Linked DNA regions of Homo sapiens: all the other regions are linked to region 3. The links are contacts of gene promoters, found by promoter capture Hi-C in human tissues and cell types (Jung and others, 2019). All regions are on one chromosome and are shown on one strand. Each heading gives the region's core, a stretch centred on a gene start or on the middle of the fragment in contact. The rest is flanking DNA. Distances are from core to core; before and after follow the strand shown.

Region 1 (3,050 bases), core at 25-2,524, 190 kb after region 3:
ATGAGCGTGCCGTGCAGGTGAGGGTGGGCAGGCAGGATGCCTAAGGGGGCACTGGGCCTACCCTGCTTGCTTTGAGCCCACCTGCGTTCTTCTCTTGCAGGTTCATCTATGAATTCGAGCACTTCAATGGTGTGGCTGAGCTGCTGGAGATCCTAGGAAGGTGATTCTCCCTGGGCCTCAGCTGGAGCTCAGGATTCTGGAAGGAGGGACTGGGGCCAGGTCACCTGAGCCCTCTTCCTCTCTTCTGCCTCCTCCTCAGCATCATCAATGGCTTTGCGCTGCCCCTGAAGACGGAGCACAAGCAGTTCCTGGTTCGCGTCCTGATCCCCCTGCACTCTGTCAAGTCGCTGTCTGTCTTCCATGCCCAGGTGAGGCCCAGGCCTGTCCCTGCTGCAGCAGGAGCTCCAGACAGTCAGGGCAGCCAGTGGGTCCTGGAGGTCAGATCCTCCAGGGATCCTATCTCACCTTCTTTGTCTTTATAATTCTGTTCCATCTACCTTAGAAAATTCCCACTGGCGCTTTAAGGCTAACCTCAGATATCAGCTCTGTGAAGCCAGGCTTTTCTTCTCTACCCTCCCTTGGCAGAATTACATTCTTCTCCATCTATATTCCCAAATATTTGGATACACAAATCTATTATGGGAGATTTTGATACACAATTTTTTTTTTTGAGACAAAACCGTACTCTGTTGCCTCAGCTGGAGAGCAGTGGTATGAACATGGCTCACTGAAGCCTCTACCTGCTGGGCTCAAGCAGTCCTCCCTTCTCAGCCTCCCGAGTAGCTGGGACCACAGATGTATGTGCCACATGCCTGGCTAATTAAAAAAAATTTTTTTTTTGTAGAGACAGTGTCTTGCTATGTTACCTAGGCTGGTCTCAAACTCCCAGGCTCAAGTGATTCTGCTGCCTCGGCCTCCCAAAGTGCTTGGATTACAGGCGTGAGCCACCACACTAGCCATATTATGGAACCTTTTGCAAAATTTATAAAGATGAGTTTGTTGACTGTCCCCACTCCCCGCGAGATCAGAGTTGTATTCCCAGCACACTGAATGTGATGCCTGGTACATCCTAGGCAGGTGATAAATGCTTGGTGAATAAGAAAGTAACAGGCCGTGGGTGAGCAGTATTTGGCATTCTGTCCTGGACAGCAAGTCCTTGGCGCCTGGTGCCTTCCTGACCTGTCTTCCTTCCCTCCACCTGTCACCCCCTGCAGCTGGCATACTGTGTGGTGCAGTTCCTGGAGAAGGATGCCACTCTGACAGAGCACGTGAGTACCTCTGGGGGCTAAGGCAGCCTCTCACCTCTGCAGGCGTGACTCCTGTCTCATCTCCCACAGGTGATCCGGGGGCTGCTCAAATACTGGCCAAAAACCTGCACCCAGAAGGAGGTATGAAGAAGGGCTTTGATGCCCGCCAGAGGGAGGCTGGGAGGGCTCGGCCTCTAGAAGGCAGTCAGGTGTGTGTATGTGTAGGGGGAGATGTGAGCTGCTGCCCCTCTGTCCCTACTCCCCTCCCCAACCCACCCAGGTGATGTTTCTGGGGGAGATGGAAGAGATTCTTGATGTCATCGAGCCCTCCCAGTTTGTGAAGATCCAGGAGCCCCTTTTTAAGCAGGTGGCTCGCTGTGTTTCCAGCCCCCATTTCCAGGTATGAGGCAGGACAGGCGGGGATGGGAGCAGGGCTGGCCTGGAAAGGTTGGGTAGCTGACCTAATAAAGCTCCCTTTGCCCTCAGTTTCTCCTCCAATCCCGGGTCTGGTAATGGGGAGATGCTGGACTTAGGGTCAGGAGACCTAGGGTGAAGCCTCGGACCTGCCTTCCACTGGCTGAGGGGCCTTGAGCAAATCACTGCACCACTCTGATTCTGATTAAGCTTCCGCAGCTGTAAAATGGGCCAACAACCTCTTCACAGGGTGGGGATAAGGATGGAAGAGATTGTGAGTGTAAACATGTTTGGTAAACTGAAGTGTGATCCAGAATGTGATGGAGGACTGTTATCACTTTTCCCCTTTTGCTAGTGGCCTTAGATTTCATTAGACTCGCTTTGGGATGCAGCCAGGCTTCCCCGCACCAACCCAGCTAACTAACTCATGTTCTGCTGCAAGCATGTGCAGACTTCCTCCCGTTCTTATGGGCCATAACCCAGTGGAAGTCAAGTCTTCCTCACAGTGATTCTGGCACTTCGGTTCATTAAACACCTAAAAGTCTAGTATCTCATTTGATTCTTATAACATCCTGTTGAGATAGGTATTATTAGCCCATTTTACAGATGAGAAAACTGAGGCTGGGAGGTTAAATGCCTCTCCCAAGGTCACATGGCATAGTAGAGTCTGTAGTGGTTAGGATTCACCCCGCAGCATTGGATTCCGTATCTAGAACTCTTTTCCCTTCAACACTGTTGCTTCCTCCAGGGCTCAGATAAGCCCTGAAGGTGGGGTGTGTGAAGGTCAGGGGGCCTGGGCGTTGAGGTAGTGATGGACACCAGACCTTGCACACAGAGAGAAGCCACTGCCAGTTAATCACTCTGCCATCTTGTCTGCCCCAGGTTGCAGAGCGGGCTCTGTATTTCTGGAACAATGAGTATATCCTAAGCCTCATTGAGGACAACTGCCACACTGTGCTGCCTGCTGTGTTTGGGACCCTCTACCAAGTCTCCAAGGAGCACTGGAACCAGTGAGTGCCAGGCCATGACCTAACTCACAGAAACTGGGACCAGGGCCAGCCAGTCCAGACCCGACCCCAGGGTTACTCCTAGCTGGAGAATATCAGAGAAAGCATCAAAAGATGGCCCAGGGGTGGTGAAAAGGACAGGAAAGTGGGCAGTGCTTGTGTTCAGGTGGAATGCTGTATGTGAAGGGCAGGGAAAGGGAGAGGTGGGCAAACCAAAGCTGTTTCATCTCCTCATCCCTCCTTGACACTGCCAAGAACCATCGTATCACTGATCTACAATGTGCTCAAGACCTTCATGGAGATGAATGGGAAGCTGTTTGATGAGCTCACAGCCTCCTACAAGCTGGAAAAGCAGCAGTGAGTGTTGGGGGCTGGGCGTGGG
Region 2 (3,149 bases), core at 228-2,727, 250 kb before region 3:
AATTAACACTCACACACTACTACCATCTAATCAACAGAATCCTGCATTCATGTTTAGGCAATTTCTCAGGAACATCCTTTGTACCAACAAGATCTCATCTTGGGTCACAAGTTGTATTTAGTTGACATATCTCTTCAGTCTCCTTCAATCTAACAGTTTCTCTGTCTTTTCTTGATTTGTATGACCTGACGCTTTTGAAAAGCACAGATCAGTTATTTTGTAGAATGTTCCTCAAGTACAGGATTGTCTGATGCTTCCTTTTGATTAGATTCAGGTTACGCATTTTTGGCAGGACTATCATAGCAGTTGGGCTGTGTTCTTTCCATTGTATCCTATCAGGGAGAACACAACATAGATTTATCCTATGACTGGTGATGGGACATCATGCTTTGACTGTGACTTTGGTCACTTGGCTAAAATGGTATCTGCCAGGTGTCTCCACCGTAAAGTTATTATTTTTCCCTTTGTATTTAACAAATGTTTTGTAAAGAAGTACCTCGAAACCACGTAAATATTCCTGCCTGTTCAAACTTTCACTCATCAGCATTAACATCTACTGATACTTCTTGGCTAAATTACTGATTACTAACAGCTATGATGATTACCAAATGGTAACTTTTCTAATTCCATAATTTCTTCCACGTTTGTTAGTTGGCATTTTGTTGTAAGAAAATTTTTTCTTCTCCTCATTTATGTATTCATTCATTAGTATCTATATGGCTTTCTGTTTTATCCAATAGGTTATGTTATTATTATCTAGTTTGGTGTTCAAATTATGTCAGAACAAGCGGGACCCCTTTAGAGCTGGCTCCTCTGTCCTTTTAATTCATCTCCTTCGATTTTTGAGCACATGCTCACTCTCTGGCACAAAAGATGTTATAGGTTTATCTTGTGCTTTTCCTACCTCAACCCTGGAATCAGCCATTTTCCCAAGAAATCCTGGTTGCTTTTAGGGGAGAATGGTATTTAGAAACCAAGATTTGAGTGCTGGGCACGCTCATTGCTGTTGGGGTGTTATTGCATCCAGGCCTTCTTGGTGGATAAAGCTAGCAACACATGTACGTACACACACAATTATATCTATATTCATTTCTGTATCTGTCCATAAGTATTGAAAACCATTAGTTCATCCCTCCAATTATAATCTAACACACAGCGTTCATTCCAGTTTCCTCCTTTTCCGTGTCTGTAACTTCTGCGGCAGTGAGAAACCTGGCTTTCATTTTCCTCAATATTTTGCTTATTTGATCAATCTTTTCTAGGTAACCAACCTACTTCCATGATGCCATGTGCTTCTCAGTACTCAGAGCCGCTTTGCTCTGAGGACATTTTCCCATCCCAATGAGATACCTGAAAAGATGGGCCTTGTTTTTCATAGTCCCTTCAGGCTAAGGGGACAAAAGTCAGAGTGCCGGGAAAGGGTGGTCTGAGGACATAGGAAAAAGAACAACCAGAAACCAACAAAAGTGCTTTTCCTATTCTCTCACTCGATAATCAACAAGCAATACTTCTTGATTGATCTGCTTGATCTTTTCCCCCATACACCAAGCAATCAATCGACTTTGCAGAGGACACCAGCTAGGCATCCTCCAATTCAATTCTGACGCTGTCTACCTGGAGACGGCGTCAGATCCCACAGGCTGAGCACTCAGTCCCACAAGGCTGCCCCCACTTCCAGTGCTCATCGAAAGCCCCAGGTTGTTCCACCTGTAATTCTGACCCACCAGCTATAAATGGGGGTTCCCATGACCCCCTTTTTGGGTTTGATTAATTTGCTGGAGTGACTTACAGAACTTAAGGAAACACTTATTTACATTTACCAGTTTATTACAAAGGATATTACGAAGGATACAGATGAAGAAATGCATAGGGCGAGGTATGGGGAAGGGGCATGTTTCCCTCTCCAGGTGCACACCCTCCAGGAACCTCCACGTGTTCAGCTATCCAGAAGCTCCCAGAACCAAGTCCTTTTGGGTTGTTTAATTTTTTAATTTATTTTATATTTTTCCATAGGTTATTGGGGAACAGGTGGTGTTTGGTTACATGAGTAGGTTCTTTAGTGGTGATTTGTGAGATTTTGGTGTACCCATCACCCAAGCAGTATACACTGCACCCTATTTGCAGTCTTTTATCCCACGCCCCCCCCCCCACCCATCCCCCCAGGTCCCCAAAGTCCATTGTATCATTCTTATGCCTTTGTGTCCTCATAGCTTAGCTGCCACATATCAGTGAGAATATACGATGTTTGGTTTTCCATTCCTGAGTGACTTCACTTAGAATAATTTTCTCCAAACTCATCCAAGTCACTGCGAATGCCATTAATTCATTCCTTTTTATGGCTGAGTAGTAGTTCCCTTTTGGGTTTTTATGGAAGCTTTATTACATAGGCATGATTGATTAAATTATTGGTCATTGGCCATTTAACCTTCAGCCCCTCTCTCTTCCCCAGAGGTTGGTGGGGGACAAGATGAAAGTCCTAATCATATAATCCTGCTTTGGTCTTTCTTGTGACCAGCCACCATCCTGAAGCTACATAGGGGCTGTCAGCCATCAGTGAATTCATTAGCTACAAAAGACACTCATCACTTTGAAAATTCCAAGAATTTTAAGAGTTGTGTGCCAGGAAAAGACCAAATATATATTTCACAAGATCACAGATGGGAACCTGTAAACCCTATCCCACTTTAGGCTAGGACCCAAAGGGCTACACGGAAGGAAATAGAATAATCTTAGCTTTTCATCATCTGGACAGCTCCGAAAATCTGAAGCCCTGAATTTATATTAAGGTGATTCTAGACTGGGCATGGTGGAATCATGCCTGTGATCCCAGCACTTTGGGAGGCCCAGGTGGGAGGATCACTTGAGCCCAGGAGTTTGAGACCAGCCTGGACAACATGGTGAGACCTGGTCTCTACAAAAAATATTTTTAAAAAATTAGCCAGGCATAGTGGTGTGCACCTGTGGTCCCAGATACTCGGGAGGCTGAAGTAGGATTGCTTGAGCCGAGGAGGTAGAGGCTGCAGTGAGCCCTGATCATGACCCTGCACTCCAGCCTGGGCAACAGAGTGAGACCCTGTCTCCAAAAAAAAAAAGAAGAAGAAGAAGAGATGATTCTAGATCGTTATTATCCTCAGTACCTGGAAAAAAGA
Region 3 (3,265 bases), core at 262-2,761:
TCTGCCCTGCGTTGCGGAGGAGGCTTTCGTTAAAGAGACTGCACGCTGCGGAGCAGGGTGGGTCCGGGTCAGGGCTGTGCCCTGGACTGTGCCTGGGAGGCAGGGACCCGGGCTCAGACTCGGGGCTAGGCTCAGGCTCCGTGTGCCCTCCCGAGCCACTCACCGAAGGCTTCGATGCACCCGCGGAGCAGCTCCTCCACCGTGCAGCCCTTGTCCAGGTCCAGGGTGCCTGCCATGGCCGCCGGCGCGGGGTGGGCTGGGCCCAGGCTGCGCTCCGGGAGCCTCCCACCGGGCTCGGACCGAACCCCTGTCCCGGGAGAGGCAGAGCGGGAGTCTGCGGAGTCGCGGGCGGGGGAGCGGCCCCGCGGGCAGAAACGGGGCGGGGCGGGCACGCCCCCTGCTGGACAGGGGCGGAGTTGTCCCCCGCGGCCACTCCCGGGGTTAAACGGTCTGGCCCGGGATGGTGCAACCCGCCAGTTGGGAAACGGACCCGCAGAGAGGCTTCCGGCCCACCCTCGGAGTCGCGGGAAGGCCGAGGGGCTTCACGAGGATGGGGACGAACCAAGATCCCAGGACTGGCTGGCGCCCAGCCCCCCGCAGGGCGCCTTCTCCTCGCGCCCTCTCCCCAGAGGCACCTGCAGCACCCCGCAGCTCGGCTCTGCGCCCCTCCCGCTTCCCTCCCTCCACAGCCTCCCTTCCCCCGCAGGGTTATTTTGGGAACCCAGAGCCTGAGGGGACCTCGGAGGAATTTCTCCCTGGTATGGGAGGTGGGGGGAGAGAACCCAGGCGTCCTGCCCGCCTCGCCCCCTCCCGGGAGCCCAGGAAGGCGAGGCGGGGCTGCGGCAGCCCCCAGGGGGCCTGCCCTAGGGGAGGCGGACTGGATGGGAGAGGAACATTCCTGGGGCGGGGGGAGCCCGCTGCGGCCAGGAGGCGTCAGCGGGAAGCCTGAGCCTGGGAACTGAGCGCTCCCAGGCCACCTCCGCAAAGGTCCCAGGGGTCCCGGCTCAGCTTGTCCACAGGCCCTCTTCCTCCCTATCCCCGGCTCCTGACCCTGGCCCCGGCCCCGCACAGGCGAACTGTGAGCGCGCACGGAGCAGGGTGTCCAGAGGGGGGCGCTCGCGCCAAGGGTGGCCGGTGGGTGCATGACACCATTAGCAACTCCGGTCACTGGCGGGGTCATACGCACCCTGGCAGGGGCAAACACTCCACACCCAAGTTATTCGTCGGAGGCCGGGGACCTAAGTGGAGGTGCAGGCGTCCGCACTTACACGCACCGGGCCACAGGCACCGGCCTCCCATCCTCCGTCTCTCACACACAATGGCACCCACACCCTGTGCACACCTGCACGAAGAAACCCTCAGGCACACATACCCAGCTCGTCCACCCCAGAATGCAAACCCGCGGACGAGGTCGCCTCCTGGACGTGCTGTTCACTTGAGCCAGGCCAGCCTTGAGTCCCGCGGCCACACAGGCGCTGACATCCTCACACGTGTGCACACACGCAAGGCAGTGCCTCTCCACGCATGTACACTCCCACACACATGCACACACCCCCATGGGTGCGCACGCCCATTCCGTCGCCCCCCTCCCATTTGCGGTGCAGGGCCCGCCCTGCGGCCCCAGCTCCCTGACTCCCCTCACTCCCAGATTTTGGCAGAGCCTTGCCCCACGGAAAGGTACCCCGGCCCTACACATACTCACTCCCCCAGGCTGGAGGACAGGGGAGCTCCTGTACGGAGTTCTCAGGCGGACTTTTCCTAAGAGCCACCCAGAGCCGTCCCCGCCTGGCTCTACCGCTTCCTCGTGTGACCTTGAGAATCACTTGGCCTCTGGGAGCCTCAATTTTCTCATCTGCCAAATGGGGGTACGCGGGGGAGGGCCCCGCTGGAAGGTGGCTGGGAAAAGCTGGGTGCACCGTGGAGGTCCTCCGCCCTCCGGGGATCCAGCGCGCCTTAGCTCTCGTGGCCGCTGCCCCCTCTCCCAGACCCGGGCCGCAGACTCCCCACCCGCTCGCCGCCCCCAGCCCGCCCGCGCCGCCCTGGGCGGGGGGGGAGTCGCTGGGGGCCGCGCCCTCCTTCGCCTGGCGCCCCGCCCGCGCTCGCCCACTCACTCTTGGGACCTGCCGCAAGGAGCCCGCACCGGCCTGGCCGACCCCACCTCCGTGCGCTCCCGCCCGCCGGCCTCGCTGCGGCTGCGGCTCCCGCCCGCTCTCCACGCCGCGGCCCCGCTCCCCGCCGCCCCGCCCCCGCCCCCGCGCCAGGCTGCCCCCTCCCCCCTCCGCCCCTGCGCGGAGCTCCGCACCGCCGGCTGCGCCACCCCCACCGGGGGCTCCCTCTCGCCCCGCACGCGGCGGTCCCTGCGGCAGCTTAACCCCTCCCCTGCCGCGCCGCCCGGGAGGCCAGGGCCGCGGGCGGGGGGCTGCGCCACTAGCTGCCCCGAGGGCGGGCGACCGGAGGCCCCGCCGCCCGGGACGCGGAGGGGGGACCGAAACGAAGAGCCCCTCCCCCAACCGCGGACGCCCCAGTGCCCCCCGCCCTGCCTGGGTGTCGGGCGGAGGAAGCCGGGAGGGGCAGGAAGCGGACTGCGGTGGGGAAGGGGCGCCCCGCCCAGCCCCCAGCTCGGGTTCCTGTTTTCGAGACAAACCGTTCCCATGGGGCTAACCCGGCCCGGGACCGGGCGTCTTCCTGCAGGCAGCGGGTGGCACAGGCCTAGTGGAGGTCGGGGGCGTGGGGACAGCTGGTCCTTGAGATAGTCTGGGGGATGGGCTAGGACAAGATGGGAATATTTTGGGGAGAGGGACCTGTGGGGAGCGAGGAATGAAATCGTGGCTATCTGGAGACGCGGCCTTGATGTCTGGGAATGGGGGCGGGGGGCCCAGTTCACACAGGAGGAACGGGGCCCCGGAAGCCTGGCTCCCCACAGGGTCGAATGGAAAGGGGCAGCCGCATGTGGCGGTGGGTTCTCCGCAGCTCGGAGACTGGAGACCTGGATGCCTGGCCAACAGGGAGGAACTTGGGAGGGGCAGCCGCAGGCGGTTGGGGTCCCCACTAGCCGGGCCTAGGAGAGCGGGTAACGGTTTCCGACCATTTGGCTTCAGACACACTCACTGTGAAACCACCGACCCCAAACCTCCCTTCCGAGGCGTGCCCCTCCCAGCCTTGGGGCGGGGGATCCAGGACCGCCCCCGCACCTCAGTCTTGGTAATGTAAGACTTAGAAACAGGACCTTTCTGTTCCTCAGTTTCCCCATAATGAGGGCCTAGAC

The links. Contacts are between HindIII fragments. The study calls those that stand out against the background at their distance.
Region 1: a fragment that was not itself captured here is called in contact with the fragment with the promoter of RASGRP2 in region 3 in 1 of the 25 tissues and cell types used here (pancreas).
Region 2: a contact is called between a fragment that was not itself captured here and the fragment with the promoter of RASGRP2 in region 3, in 2 of the 25 tissues and cell types used here (hippocampus and thymus).

What each region holds. Positions count from the first base shown.
Region 1 is chr11:64,930,222-64,933,271 of GRCh38, forward strand. It overlaps PPP2R5B (protein phosphatase 2 regulatory subunit B'beta), which reads left to right. Exons shown (of 14, transcript NM_006244.4): 7 at 101-160; 8 at 260-368; 9 at 1,215-1,268; 10 at 1,338-1,388; 11 at 1,528-1,647; 12 at 2,544-2,671; 13 at 2,924-3,025. Among named protein-coding and RNA genes, the nearest start is that of GPHA2, 4.1 kb to the right of the region's middle. The HindIII fragment of the contact is 3,170 bases long and covers 1-2,859 here.
Region 2 is chr11:64,493,480-64,496,628 of GRCh38, forward strand. LOC124902690 (a long non-coding RNA gene) reads right to left here. Exons shown (of 2, transcript XR_007062721.1): 2 at 1,969-3,137. Among named protein-coding and RNA genes, the nearest start is that of LINC02724, 46 kb to the left of the region's middle. The HindIII fragment of the contact is 6,812 bases long and covers 1-3,149 here.
Region 3 is chr11:64,742,631-64,745,895 of GRCh38, forward strand. It overlaps RASGRP2 (RAS guanyl releasing protein 2), which reads right to left and starts at 1,512. Exons shown (of 17, transcript NM_001098671.2): 1 at 1,373-1,512; 2 at 164-307. The coding sequence starts at 236. RefSeq lists silencers at 179-508, 819-868, 1,029-1,078, 2,069-2,178, 2,429-2,628. The HindIII fragment of the contact is 18,641 bases long and covers 1-3,265 here.